Linked DNA regions of Homo sapiens: region 1 is linked to region 2. Evidence: promoter capture Hi-C in 16 types of primary human blood cells and fetal thymus (Javierre and others, 2016). All regions are on one chromosome and are shown on one strand. Each heading gives the region's core, a stretch centred on a gene start or on the middle of the fragment in contact. The rest is flanking DNA. Distances are from core to core; before and after follow the strand shown. Region 1 has its middle 170 kb from the start of MIR3194. Region 2 holds the start of KCNG1 (potassium voltage-gated channel modifier subfamily G member 1).

The links. Contacts are between HindIII fragments. The CHiCAGO score rates a contact against its expected background, and 5 or more counts as called.
Region 1: a fragment that was not itself captured here is called in contact with the fragment with the promoter of KCNG1 in region 2 in 8 of 17 cell types (endothelial precursors, M2 macrophages, naive B cells and 5 more); the score reaches 8.6 in endothelial precursors.

What each region holds. Positions count from the first base shown.
Region 1 is chr20:51,282,247-51,286,072 of GRCh38, forward strand. No RefSeq gene overlaps it. Among named protein-coding and RNA genes, the nearest start is that of MIR3194, 170 kb to the right of the region's middle. The HindIII fragment of the contact is 5,646 bases long and covers 1-3,826 here.
Region 2 is chr20:51,021,806-51,025,620 of GRCh38, forward strand. KCNG1 (potassium voltage-gated channel modifier subfamily G member 1) reads right to left here and starts at 1,302. Exons shown (of 3, transcript NM_002237.4): 1 at 1,065-1,302. RefSeq lists a silencer at 1,231-1,400. The HindIII fragment of the contact is 2,899 bases long and covers 1-2,038 here.

The DNA of each region.
Region 1 (3,826 bases), core at 118-2,617, 260 kb after region 2:
TTTGAAATACAACAAGGTCCATCTTTTGCTGGGGTTGGTACAATAAGGTGGCATGGCAGGTGTGGTGAGCTGGCATACACCATCCATTTCACCTTCATCCTAGCCGGTCTTCCCATCTGTAGAGGCAAGAAAGTGACCAACTACATGTCCCAGAGCCTCTTGCTGCTGGGCCTCAAGATGTTATTGAGGTTGGGCCAGTCAGATACACACAAATGAGATTTGCTCCTCCTTTCAGGAAGTTTTCTGTGTTCTATTTTAATATTAAGTTTCTATGACCTTAGCACATGTTCATGGAAGTGTCTGTTGGACAGACTATAAGGGTATTAGTTTCAAAAGTTAGTCTGTACATTTGATGCATATTCAATGTGTATGCAGACAGGGCGTGGTGGCTCACCCTGGTAATCCCAGCATTTTGGGAGGTTGAGACAGGAGGATCACTCTAACCAGGAGTTTGAGACCAACCTGGGCAACATAGTGGGACCCCCTCACACACCCCAACCCCATCTGGTCAAAAAATAAATAAAAATTAGCCAGGCACAGTGGCATGCACCTGTAGTCCCAGCTACATGGGAAGCTGAGGCAAGAGGATCACTTGAGCCTGGGAGGTTGAGGCTATGGTGAGTCATGATCATGTCACTGCACTCCAGCCTAGGCAACAGAGTGAGACCCTGTCTCAAAAATGAATGAATGAACGAATGTATATACAGATATATTTCCATTGACTAATGACCAGAAACTCTTACTCTAACAAAAACTTTGCTCAAGCCACTGAATTATGCACAGTGCAAAACAAAACAAAACAAAAAAACTGTGTTTGGCTACATACAGCAGAAGCCTGACTAATAGTGGCTTAAACAAATAGATGTATGTTGGAGTTGGGGACAGATTTGTTGTTTCACATAAGATGTCCAGAGGTGGGCAATACTGGTTTTAATTCAGCTGCTCGAATAGGATGTGAGGAACCTAGGCATTTTCTTTTTTATGTCTTTCTACTTTGCCTTCTTTAGCATTTTAGCTTTTTGCCTCATGATCACAAAATGGCTCCTGTAGCTCCAGACCTCACAACTATGCTCAAAGCAAGAAGGAGAAAAGAAGAAAAGGCAGCCTTAGCATAGCTACATTTTCCATTACAAGGGCAAAGCCTTTCCCAGAAGGCCCCACAGCAGACTTCCCCTTGGTCTTCTTGGTCAGAAGTAAGTCATGGGACCACCCCTAACTGCAAAGGATTCTGAGAAATTTAGGGGGCATGATTGTCACAACTGGCTTAAGTTAATCACAACCTATTTTGGGGGTGGGGGATGGCTAAGCACATTGTCTCCCTGACAAAGTGAGGGTACTGTTAGCAAGGACGGAGGGAGAATGATTACAGGGCAGACAATGAACCTTGCCTGCCATACCAGCAAACATTTCTGATCACCTCTTGGGAGTCAAACACTGTGTTAGGCTTTCTAAGGGATTCAAAAAAGTATAAGAAACATTCACCACCTTCAAGTCCTCCAGTCAAGGAGGTGGTTTTATCAGGACTGTCTCCCGTGCAAGGGGATAGAAACTCTACTCAAACTGACCTAAGAAGAAAGGCGTTTATAGGTTCATGTAAATGAAAAACCAGGGTGCATTTGGCTTCAGGCATGGCTGGATCCAGGTATTTATACGATTTCAAAAAATAAAAAAATAAAGATTCATCTCTGGGCTCTGCCTTCCTTTCTGCTAGCTTGGTTTTTAGGCAAGCTCTTCTCATCGAGTGACAAGGACGCTGTCCACAATTCTAGACCTACATCCCACAAGCTCAGTAGCAATAGGCACAGCTCAGGTTGTACAGCTCAGGTGGTACCTTCAGTTCTGATGGGCTGGGCCTGAGTTCTGCATTCACCAGGACCTAAGGGTGGGGTCAGCCCCACCCAAACCCCATAGACTGAGAGTGGTTGCCTACCTGCAGGGAAACTGCAATTCTGTTCTAGCAAAAAAGGAGGGATAAACACTGGGTGGGGGAAAAAATGTGATTTCTCTACAGAAGAGAATTTAAAGAGGTGAGAAAGTCCTAGTGATTCATCAACAAACGATTAGTCCCAGGAGGTTTCAGCTGTCCTTCCTGCAGCTGACAGACTCTGCTTGGTGACACACACACTAGGCTAGATGTGTGTTGAGAACATCCTTGTTTCCATGCTTCTTCTGCTCTGGGTTTGGCCAGAGAGGTCCCAAGGTCTCATTGCCCCATTTGCATAGAATGTCAACATGACTAAGCACACATCAGTGATGGTGATTTTACAGTTATATTAGGTATAAAAGCTGGCCCAAAGCAGCACAAGCAATGAAAATTCAACAGCCTCAAAATCTCATGATCAGGGATGTCGGTAAAGTGAGCTCAGCTCTGGAGTTTGATCTCGTGTGGGGTGCTTGGTAATGGGTGATAATTGCAGCTTGCTGCTTTCTTCTTCACCTAAGTTAGAATCAGGTACCTTCTGCCCAGATCTTGCAGCTACTGTTGAGTGGCCCTTGCCAAGAGACGTAGAGGTCTATGCCTATTTCCTCATCTGTAAACCTGGGATACCTGTAACAATAGGTTTTATTTCCCAGGGTTAAAATCTCAGGGTGCTGTAGGGAGGATTCAATTAGAATATGCATGTTCACCCCTTAGCCCAGTGCCCGACCCTGAGGGAGCTTCTCATCTCTGCTGTTGGGAGGACGAGGAGTTGCATGTTCTGCCACGAAAGTGCGTTGTATTCACGCAGGCACTACTTACAAGGCTTTACATACATCAGCTCATCTAACCCAGCCCAGCTGGTACTGTCATCCCTATTGTTCAGATGAATTAACTGGCTTTGCAAAGGCCACACAGTTTGCTCAAGGCTGCATAGATCTGTCATAGCAGAGCCGGGACTGGAGCCCAGCCTTCCAATGGCAACTACCAGGGCCAGCCCCAGGGGGAGGCAAGTGAGGCACCAGCCCCACCTGCAAAATGTAAGGGGGCCTAAAAGCCCAGTCATCAAGATAAATTATATTTGAATGCACTATTTTAAAAAATCAAAATTAATGCAAAAAGGATCCATGGCAAATATCCATGAGGCAAAATATTATGTTTGCAAATGAAAACAGGATTATTCTGGCTGATTTTTTCTTTTGCTCAGACTGTCATAGGGGGCCTGGCCTGGTGCTGGGACTGCATTCCCAGTGCTGGCTGCATTCGCAAGCAGGTGCCCCTTCAGGTGGCAGAGGTGACCCCTGAAGCCTCTTCCAACAAGCTCAGCGGAGAGGACGCCTCCCCTCTGAAAGGCAAGCAGAGCTGCGGAGGTACTCCTCACTGGATCATATGCAGGGACAGTTGGGAAGGATGGCACCTCCCAAAATGTTGAGGTGCTGTTTCAATTATAAAAAGAGGACTGAGTGTTAAATATGCAAACGGCACAGACTCTACTGCAAGTGGGCAGTGGCTAATCTTAAGGACCCTCGCTCCAGTGGTGGAGGGCCAGGCTTGGGACAGAGCCCGACTTTGGCCAGAGATCCTTCCTGATGTCCCCAGGCTAGCACAAGCCTCCAAGGCAGCTGGGTCTTAGGTCCTCTGTAGCCCTAGTTCTCTAGTCAGTTACTTCTGCTCAAGCCTGTTTCATCATTGGCTACGTTGTACTCACGCCTCCTCCCCTTCCTCCTCAAAGCAATCTTGCTGAACTGCCAGGCCCATTAGTTATCATTCAAATCTCTTTGATCAGACCTATTTGTGCACTGATAATGAATGGGTTTGCATCTCAGTCCCTCCCCACAGTAAAGGCTTCTGGGGGAGGAAAGAACTCATTCCCATTTCCTGGGGAAGAAGCCAGCAAGACATAATAAG
Region 2 (3,815 bases), core at 52-2,551:
GGGAACCTGCATTCCTCAGTAATGTCGGATCAGTGTTTCTCAACTCCTCCCCACCCTACCCCATCACCCGCCCCTAAGGAGCTTTGAAAAGATCTTTTCTTCCTATTCTAGAACCAATTCCAGCTTCCACACCTCCCACCTTGAGAAGGAATGCATTAGATGAACCAAGACTTCTGCCTATATACATGGGCTGCTACAGTTGGCCACCCCGGCAGTCTGCGGCCTCCCAAGCGGGGGCCTGGGTCTTAATCCTTACTTCTCTCTAAGCTGCATGAAGGGTGCCCCCATTCCATCCCTCTTCACTTCTCCCCAGCATAGCGCCTCCATAAATGTTTGTGAACTGGATGAATGACTGTTGAGCGCTTGGTATGATGAGCTGCTTACAATAGGTGCTCAACCAATCTTTGTCCAATCTATGAATGAATGAATGAACTTCACCCTTTTCCTTCCATACCTCCGGGCTGAGCCTCTCTCCCACATGGAAACCCTAAGGCTGAGACCACCACCTTCCTACCAGTTCCTGGGGGTGCCCAGTGAACTGTCTCAGTATCCCCAGTGCCTAGCACACAGTAGGCGCTCAATAAACGCTTGCTGTGTTCATAATGAATGACTCAATCAGGCCCACGGTGGGGGTGAAGGGGGGCTCCATACTGTGCCTAAGGATACAGTGAATGAGCAAGTGACACACACTCCCCCACCCCAATCCCTAACTCTCCTTCCTCCCAGGATCGGGGGAGAAACCTCGGCCCACAGCCGGGATGCGCCCCCGCCGGGGTCACCGCGGCGGCGAACGTCCCGGACTTCGCATCCCGGTGACCCCTTGGGATGAACCGAAGCCGGACCCGCACCTTGGCCGTAACAAGCGCGCTCCACGCCGCCACGCACCAGCGGTGACTCCCGAGTCCTCTGTCGCCCTGGCCTCCCCGCAGGCGGGTTTCGAGGCCCCCGCAGGGAGTTCAGGGCCACGGCCACGTGCAGCCGCCCCCGAGCCCGAGTTTGCAGGCTCGGGGTCCGGTTCGCGCTTCGGTGGCGCCCGGCGAGGCTGCAGCGCGCAAAGTTCCCACCTCAAGTTCCCGTCGCGGCGTCCCCGCCTCGGAGTTGGCCCGGCCGCGGCTTCCGTTCCCCCCGGCTGCCCACGGGTCCGGGGCGAGGACGCGAGAGGGGCCTGGAAGTCGCCCGGGGAGCCCGCTCTGCCTCCCGGAGCCGCCGCCAAACTTCGGTCCCGGGGCCCGGCTCAGCTCCCGCCCTCGGAGCCACGGCCGCCCCGTCTCTGCCTCCCGGTCCCCGCCGGGCTCCGAGTGCGCCGGGAGCGCGGCGCAGCAGCCGCCGAGGGAGGGAGCGAGGCAGGAGGCGGGACGGAGGGAGGGGACTGAGCGCGGGGCGGGGAGAAGGGGCGGGCAGCCGAAAGCGCAGCGCCTGGCCTCGCCTCGCTTCGGGACAGTGGCAGCGGCGCCACCGTCACGGGGCGTCCAGGCGCCCAATCGGGACCCCGCACCTTGGATCCGGGGGCCCTGGCGCGCCTGCTGGATTGCGCTCCTCGCGGCCAGTTCCTGAGCCCGCGTCCGGGACTGCTCGCGCTACGCCCTCCCTCCCGTTGCCTTCTTCCCCGTCTGCTCTCCCAGGAGCGACCACCCTGCGGCCCCTTCGCCTGCACGCGACAGCCTTCAAGGTCCCCGCGCTCCGCTGCCCTGGAGCTTCACGCACCAGGCGGCGCGGCAGCCTCCTAGGGTCGCGCGCCCTGTCAGCTTTCCCCGCGGTGCAAGTGCTCCGGTGGTCCCGGGTCCGCGCCCCTAGCAGCACCGCCCCAGGGTCTACATGTGCTAGATATTAAAACCCCACTCTCCGCTGCCCCGGGGCCGCGCTCCACGCGCTTACACATCCTGGGAACCACATGCGCCATGTCTCCTGCCTTTCCCTGGAAGTCCTGGAAGTCCAAGTGCACTGCTGCCTCTGGGTCCCTCGCCCCCCTACCCCGGGCAAATACTGCATCCTTGAGGCCCTCCACGCGCTGCTGCCCTGGAGCCGAACGCTCCAAGCAAGCTTCCACATCCTGGGGGCCATATATCGCGCGCCTTTTCTCGACCTCCTAGACCAATGTTGCCCTTGGGCCCTTCCTGCCACCGCCACCCAGGGACTGCCAGCATCTTGCTGTGCCAAATTCCTAGGGCCAGTACGTACCGTGCCAGGTGTTTTCCCTTCCAGTCCCGCGGGGCCGAGGCCCCAGAGCCCTCCCGGGCTAGCAGAGCCGCACTTCGTCGTCCACTCCCCTGGCCGGTGCAGGGCACTTGGACCAGGTCCTGGGGTCTTGCTCCCAGTGTGGCCGCCTAGCCTCGGAGTTGGTAGGATGCTGCACAGATGCTGGAGGTTGGGTTGGAGGGATCTATTGGGTTGGAGGAATCTACTGAGTTGGAGGGACCTATTGGTTTGGAGGGATCTGTGCTGCTGGCAGGGCTGGCCTCTTAGGGTGGCTTGCCTTGCACTCCGTTCCTCTTCTCCTTTCTGTCTCTTGCACTCCGTTCCTCTTCTCCTTTCTGTCTCTTGCACTCCGTTCCTCTTTTCCTTTCTGTCTCTACTGCCTTTGCCTATCATCAGAGAACCAAGAAAGGACATGAAGAAACCCTGCTGCCGACCAGCCTGAGGCCTTCTGCTTGAGTGGGGCTCGGGTTGGGGAGTCGTGGGTGCTCATTAAGTGGGTTAGGGTTAACCCTAAGAAATGAGCGCAGGGCACACTAGCCTGCGCGGCAGTCCCAGCCGGGTGGAGCATAGGAGTTCCAGGTTATAGTGCACTATGATGGCACCACTGCAATCCAGCCTGCGTGACTGAGCGAGATCCAGCCTCTAAAACAACAAGAATAAAAACACTGGCTTACTGGTGAGGTGGAGGCCTGGACAGACAAGGATCTGCCTAAGGACCTGTTTCCAAGAGCTCACCTTCTACTGGGGGCTTGGCAGAATTGGGAAACTGCTGAAATACGTGATTGCAGAATGAAGCCAGAGAGGCCACTTTAGATAGAATAATGGGGGAGGGCTCCTGTGGAGGTGATGGTTACATGGAGCCCTGAGCCAGAAGGAGCCCATCTGGCAAGATGGGAAGAGAGCTTTCTAGGTGGACAGAACATCAAAGGCACTGGCCTTCAAGCAGGAGAGAAGGAGGCATGTCTGAGAAACATCAAAGAGACCAACCAGCAGTGTGGGGGAGGGGCCTGAGTGGGGTGGGGTGGGCTTTTGTTGTCAGAGGGTCCCTGGATTACATATTGAGAAACACTCCTCTTGTGGTGGATCAGGCTTCTGCCTTCCTTTCCCATCTGAAATTTTTTTTTTTTTTTTTTTTTTTGAGACATAGTCTCTCTGTGTCTCCCAGGCTGGAGTGCAGTGGTGTGATCTCAGCTCACTGCAACTTCCATCCCCCTGGGTTCAAGCGATTCTCCTGCCTCAGCCTCCTGAGTAGCTGGGACTACAGGTGTGTGCCACCATGCCCAGCTAATTTTTGTATTTTTAGTAGAGACGGAGTCTCACCATGTTAGCCAGGCTAGTTTTGAACTCGCAACCTCAAGTGATCCGCCAGCCTCAGCCTCCCAAAATGCTGGAATTACAGGCGTGAGCCACTGCACCCAGCCAGAAAATTGCTCTCTATCTTGTTTTTGAGACAGGGTCTGACTCTGTCACCCGCTGGAGTGCAGTGGTGCAATCATAGCTCACTGTAACCTCTAACTCCTGGGCTCTAGGGATCCTCCTGCCTCAGACTTCTGAGTAGCTGGGACTACCACACACCACCATGCACCACTAATTTAAAACAAAATATATTTTTTGCAGAG